Regions from separate parts of the Homo sapiens genome. Here region 2 is linked to region 1. Evidence: promoter capture Hi-C in 16 types of primary human blood cells and fetal thymus (Javierre and others, 2016). All regions are on one chromosome and are shown on one strand. The core of a region is centred on a gene start or on the middle of the fragment in contact, and the rest is flanking DNA. Distances in the headings are between cores, read along the strand shown.

Region 1 (3,217 bases), core at 488-2,987:
GGACATCTAGCTTATAGGTAAAAAAGTAAACGTTAAAGTATGATTATCTAGCTATAACTGCAGCTCTTCACTGGTTGGTTCGGCCAGAGTTGACAAGTCCAACTCTCCAAACTTGAGGCAAAGGAAGATCGGAATCGTACCCACATCATAGATTTGCTGTAAAACTTTTAATAAACAAATCTCTTAGTCGCTGCCTGGAATATAGCAAAACCTCAACAAATATTAGCTTTTATGATGCCTACTTTTAGGTCCATAAATCTTTATCTGCCCTAGTTTGGCACAAAACTTACATGGTGGCAAAATGTGACCTGAAGCTATTTATAGTTTCTATTCGCCCCCACTTAGAATGAATGTTCACATCTATTGCTGCAAATATTAATGTTGGATTATGGGGTGCCCCACTCTGCTGGGGGTGTTATCTCTCGTCTAACATGACTTTCTAAAAAGATGAAGATAAAATCCAAGTATTTTTGAATTCAAAACACACTAGCTTCAAAAGTTTCAGTTAAGAGACTGGGGATGGATTTTACCCATTCCGCCTGGAGTGAGGAAAAGAACATTCCAATATTTGCAATTCACTCCAAGTTTCTGAAGCAAACTCGCTTTGCATTGTGGGCTCAGAGATGCCAGCATGAAAAATTTCTATTCTTCCCCCAAAGAACACCAGTGAACAAAGAACTTATGAAATGTTTCTGAAGGCTACCTTTGCCTGTAATGAGGGTTCCTTTTCGAAACAGACCTTTACAACCCCCAGGTGTGTATTTCTCTAGTAGTAAAACTAAAAAAAATTCTTGCGGTCGAGTGAGCCTGGCTTCATGCTTTAACACTGGAATCTTTACCTATTAAAAGCTGTACTCTTGCTTTTCAAGGTAAAGAGGAAAACGGTCCAGCTATGCATACGCTATCGCAGGTATGTGCTCCTCAGTCCTAAAAAAGGAGATCACTGAATTCTGCCCTTCTCGTGGTTTGCCCTGGGTATTCATCTAATGTATCCGTGAGCAATTCCTCTAGTAAGTCATAACCAGAACGTTGTCACACTGCGGATTAACAAGCGCCCGAGACTCTTGTAAGAATCTTTTCAGGCCTTTCCCTTTTTATTAAAAATTAATGAATGAGTGTAATAGGGTGGGGGTAGAGGGGAAATCGGGGCCAAGGGGCGCGAGGCCGGCAGCCGTTTAGGGACGCACGAACAAAGGGAGTCCGGGATCAACCGGAGCGAACCGGCCTCCTAGCGGGTCGCGCCCGCCGGGAAGGGGTGGGGGAGGGGCCGGCCCGCGCCCGCCCCGCCCCGCAGCCAGACCTGACGTCAGGCGCCCAGAAACCCGTCGGGCGCGACGTCAGCGGCCTCCGACACCTTCTCCCTGGGGGGCGATCCCCAGGCAGCCCGCAGCGTGGAGGAAGGCGACCGATAGAAACGCTTAGTCCTGGTGCCAGGCAGGCGACCACGGCCCGAGCACTGGACGTGACTCGATGCACCTCGGTCACCGCGCCCGCTTCCCGCTTGGCCGCGCCCGCGGGCTCCGCAACCCCAGCTCCCCGATTCCCCTTCACGACTCCCACTAGTACCGAAGCAGCCTCACCCGGCAATATCCGAGACCGCAGTAGGGTCTAGAAGCGGCGATGGGTCCGAGGGACTGGGCCCTGAAGACGCGGGCGCAGCCTGACTGACGGCAGCTAGAGCAGCGGCGGCAACAGCACCAGCAGCGCGCGGCTCCTCCTGGCGCCGGAACAGGAAGCGCCGAGCGCACCGCCTCCGCCCGTTCTCCCCCTCCCCTCAGGCCGCGCCGCGTGCGCCTCCCGCAGGCCCCTGGCGGTACTGCGGCCCGCCAGGCCTAGGGGGATGGGCTCCACCTGGCGCCGGCTCCGGGCCGCTTTCCCCTGGTGGGCGGGCTAAAAGCTCCCAGAGTTTCCGGAGTTCCGAGGACTCGGAGGAAACGCCAGTGGCTGCCGATGTTCACGGCTTCCCGGCGGAAATTGCTAACTTGTCTTGAGTTGCTTGAGGGCTGATTCTGGATTCCTTTTGCTCAGCGGTTTTTACAGCTAGGCCTCGAAGGAGGCTGGGTATGGACGCGGTCTGATTTCGGCCTGACCCGAGGACTCAGATCCTCGGGCCAAAAGTGGGGAGAGGGAAAATATTAATACAGGAAAGGGAAGACGTTTGCAAATAGCTTGACAAATTGATATTTGCTTTCTTTGTAGATTTTTCCTCATCAATGCCTCTTCTCCCATGTTCTTTTTTGTTGTTTTTGAGACAGGGCCTCTGTCACACACGCTGGAGTGCAGTGGCGCGATCTCGGCTCACTGCAACCTCTGCCTGCTGGTCTCAAGCAATCCTCCCATCTTAGCCTCCGAGTAGCTGAGACTGCAGGCATGTGCCACCACATCCGGCTTATTTTTGTGTTTTTGATAGAGATGGGGTCTCACCCTGCTAGCCTCAAGCGATCTGCCCGCTTCGGCCTCCCAAAGAGCTGGTATTACAGGTGTGAGCCACCGTGCCCAGCCGCCATCTTCATTTCTGAATAAACATTACCTCCTGTGTCAGGCACAGATGACATGACCCCAGTCAAGGAACCTACTAACTAGCAATAAAGATGTCGTGATAATTATATGGTGTGCAAAATATATACATATATGCAATATACTTTTTTTTTTTTTTTGAGACGGAGTCTTGCTCTGTCGCCAGGCTGGAGTGCAGTGGCGCGGTGCGATCTCGGCTCACTGCAACCTCCGCCTCCCGGGTTCAAGCGATTCTCCTGCCTCAGCCTCCCAAGTAGCCGGAACTACAGGCGCGCGCTACCTTGCCCAGCTAATTTTTGTATTTAGAGACGAGGTTTCACCACGTTGGCCAGGATGGTCTCGATCTCTTGATCTTGTGATCCGCCCTCCTCGGCAAAGTGCTGGGATTACAGGCGTGAGCCACTGTGCCCGGCCAATATACATTTTTTAAGATATAAAAATATCCTAAAAGTATGTGGTACACTTGCATCTTGCTTTGTGTAAGGCATTAGTGAGTGAGTGGGTGGCCATTTAACCATGAACTTGTTTAAAGGAAGACATCCCTGGATGTTTTCCACAGCACACACAATTCTCACACTGAAAAAGGGGCAACAGAGGAACTTCAAATACCTAAGCCGAGAGTCTTATTTTTGGGTAAGGGCACACAGGCCTATGGAAAATTACACGACTGGTGTGGACCTAGCCTGTTCTCACTGGTGAC
Region 2 (3,042 bases), core at 162-2,661, 320 kb before region 1:
TTTTTTTTTTGAAACAAATTTAAACTTACAGAAAAATTACAAAAAAATAAAAATAGGACCAGGCATGGTGGCTCACACCTGTAATCCCAGCACTTTGGGAGGCTGAGGTGGGCGGATCACTTGAGTTCAGGAGTTTGAGACCAGCCCGGCCAACATGGGAAACTGCATCTCTACTAAAAGTACTGAAATTATCTGGGCGTGGTGGCGGGTGCCTGTAACCCCAGCTACTTGGGAGGCTGAGGCAGGAGAATCGCTTGAACCCAGGAGGCGGAGTTTGCAGTGAGCTGAGATCGTGCTGCTACACTCTGGCCTGGGAAACGGAGTGAGACTGCATCTCAAAATAAAAAAATAAGTAATAAAAATAGTACAGTCATATACACCCTTACCCAGATTGACCTATTAATATTTTGCCCATTGCTTATCCTTTGTGCAGTTTCTGTGTCCATCAATGCACACACTCCCACATATTTGAAATAGGATATATTATAAAAGTGACTTTTACAAAGCTAGAAAGATCCTTTTGTTGCCTTAATTGGTAGAATACCTCCCTGCAGCACCATGAGAAAATGAGTATTCCTGGTTCAGGGTCTTGAATAAAAAGATATCCATTATTCAGCTAAACTAAAAATTAGGAAACAATTTTATAATCTTAATTCCCCAAAGACATTAAGCAAAATAGGATGAATTATTTTGCTAGTTGGTTGTGTGTGCTGTGTCTCTAGCTTGGGGTCTGGCAGGCAGGTGATGTATCTCTAATCTAGAAGTGGGAGAGGCACTGGGTGGAGAAACATCGCAGGGGCCTCTCCTCCTGCTCTGTGGCTTCTCAGAAATGTAGGTTGATCATTGGAACCAAAATTGTTCCATACTGGCCCCTTGAGGAGTCTTCCATTCAGTCGCTTTTCATTGTACTTAGCTGAGCGCCTGCTCCGTGCCAGGTGGGTTTCTCCACGCAGAGAACCGGAGTCCACCGGGAACTTGGACATTTCCTCCTCTCTGTCCCTTCTGCCTGTCTCCTGGGAAAACTAAGACCCCAGGATTGGAGAAGGCAGCATCAAAGAAGAAAACAGGCTGAGCCTTGGAGGGAGGGAGGAAAGAAGGAAGGAGCTGTGGTAAAAAGGAAGGAAGGAAGGAAGGGAGCAGGGAGGAGCGAAGGAAGGAGCAAGCTGTGGAAAAAGCTGACTGGGGAAGAAAGGAAGGGAGGGAGGGAAGGAGGAAGGGAAGGAGTGAGGAAGAAAGGATGGAAAGAAGGGAGGGAGGGAGAAAGGGAAAGAAGGAAGGGAGGAGTGAGCTGTGGTAAAAAGCTGACTGGGACCTTTGGGGGATCCTGGGGAAGATGAGAGACTTAGCCTGGCAGTCAGTTCTGAGGTCCCCTAGACTGCACAGCTGAACAGAACAGAATCAGAGCATCTTTGGTTTAGTAAAGGAGGGAGCCCAGGGAAGGAATTTAAATTGTGAACTTTTTTAGTGGGTGCGTGCCAGGAGGAGAGAGGCAGCTCTCCAGCAAGAGGAGGCAGATGGGAAAGTGGTGGTGATATGGTGAGGACCTGGGCCAGGGTGACAAATTGAGAATGGAAAGGGGGCTTATTTAATGATAACAGGTAGCCCTGGTGACCCCAGACAGAGTGGGAGGTGGGAGGGGAGGAGTCCCAGCCAGCTAAAGTTTTGAGACTGGTTCAGATATGTGAGATGAGCCTGAGGGTTTAGTAACCAGAGGATATTTGGGAGTGGCGCTAGGAGAGGAATCGGAAAAGATGGCTCTAGAGTAGAACTGTTTGCCAAGGAAAAGAAAAAGGGGAGAAAAGAAATGAAGTGCAAGGAGAAACTTGAGAAGAGGGTGCTCAGAGCTAAAAACTGCAGTGGCCATTAGTTTGCTGGCAGAGAAATTCAAGGGGCAGTAGAAAGTCCTACTCCTTTCACCCTTGCAAAATACTGACTTCTGGGCAGGGTGGGGCCTAGTAAACTTGAGAGCACCCCTAGTCTGAGGGGCTCTTTGTTTTTTTGTTTGTTTTTTGAGACAGAGTCTCGCTCTGTCGCCCAGGCTAGAGTGCACTGGCGCCATCTCGGCTCACTGCAAGCTCCGCCTCTGGGGTTCACACCGTTCTCCTGCCTCAGCCTCCTGAGTAGCCGGGACTACAGGTGCCCGCCATCACACCCAGCTAATTTTTTGTATTTTTAGTAGAGACAGGGTTTCACTGTGTTAGCCAATGGTCTCGATCTCCTGACCTCGTGATCTGCCCGCCGCAGCCTCCCAAAGTGCTGGGATTACAGGTGTGAGCCACCGCGCCCGGCCTGAGGGGCTCTTGGAAAATGTAAATTGCTCACTGGAGACCAAGTGGGAAACCCCATGGCGTATCTTCCAATTTAATAAAGCCCTAAAAACAGTCCCTGGAGCATAAATGTTAGCTATTATTATTGCTTAATCCATCTGGGAAGCACAGGTGTCTGGGAGGAATGAGGGCTGCTTGCTTCTGTAAAAAGTGAGTCAACGGTGCAGACCTGGTGAGGTGCGTTGGAAGCCAGTGCTAGCCATTCATCATTGTGAAGGCTGTGGAGAATTTGGGACCATAGGCTGAAATGGCAAGCTATACGATTCTAGGCTCTCATTTCTGCCTGCTATTTATTTCGACCTCTCCTATTTTCCCCAAAGTCGTTATCAGTGAAACCCTTAAATGAACCAAGGCATCGTGTGCTTATCTTGGGGGCAGCAGCAGGGAGAGAGCGGCACCTTGGTCCCACCCTGTAGCTGGTTGCAGGGCAGTTCCCTGGAAGGCAGTGGGTGGGGGTGGCTGCCTACAGGGAGGACATGCAGCCTGGCTGCCCTGGAGCAGGAGCTGAGGGGCATTTGAAAGGGAGGGGAAAAAGAAGCAGAAAGGCGGCCGGGCGTGGTGGCTCACAACTGTAATCTCAGCGTTTTGAGAGGCAGGGGTGGGTGGATCACTTGAGGTCAGGAGTTCAAGACCAGCCTGGCCAACGTGGTGAAACCCCGTCTCTACTAAAAATACAAAAATTAGCCGGGCATGGTGGCAGGTGCCTGTAATCCCA

The links. Contacts are between HindIII fragments. The CHiCAGO score rates a contact against its expected background, and 5 or more counts as called.
Region 2: a contact is called between a fragment that was not itself captured here and the fragment with the promoter of MAPK1IP1L in region 1, in 1 of 17 cell types (naive CD4 T cells). The highest score is 5.5, in naive CD4 T cells.

Annotation. Positions count from the first base shown.
Region 1 is chr14:55,050,167-55,053,383 of GRCh38, reverse strand. It overlaps MAPK1IP1L (mitogen-activated protein kinase 1 interacting protein 1 like), which reads right to left and starts at 1,737. Exons shown (of 4, transcript NM_144578.4): 1 at 1,581-1,737. RefSeq lists silencers at 1,167-1,326, 1,677-1,916 and enhancers at 1,947-2,146, 1,686-2,375. The HindIII fragment of the contact is 10,117 bases long and covers 1-3,217 here.
Region 2 is chr14:55,370,773-55,373,814 of GRCh38, reverse strand. All of the region lies in intron 9 of ATG14 (autophagy related 14), which reads left to right. It also overlaps a transcript of FBXO34 not described here. Among named protein-coding and RNA genes, the nearest start is that of ATG14, 40 kb to the left of the region's middle. The HindIII fragment of the contact is 5,534 bases long and covers 1-3,042 here.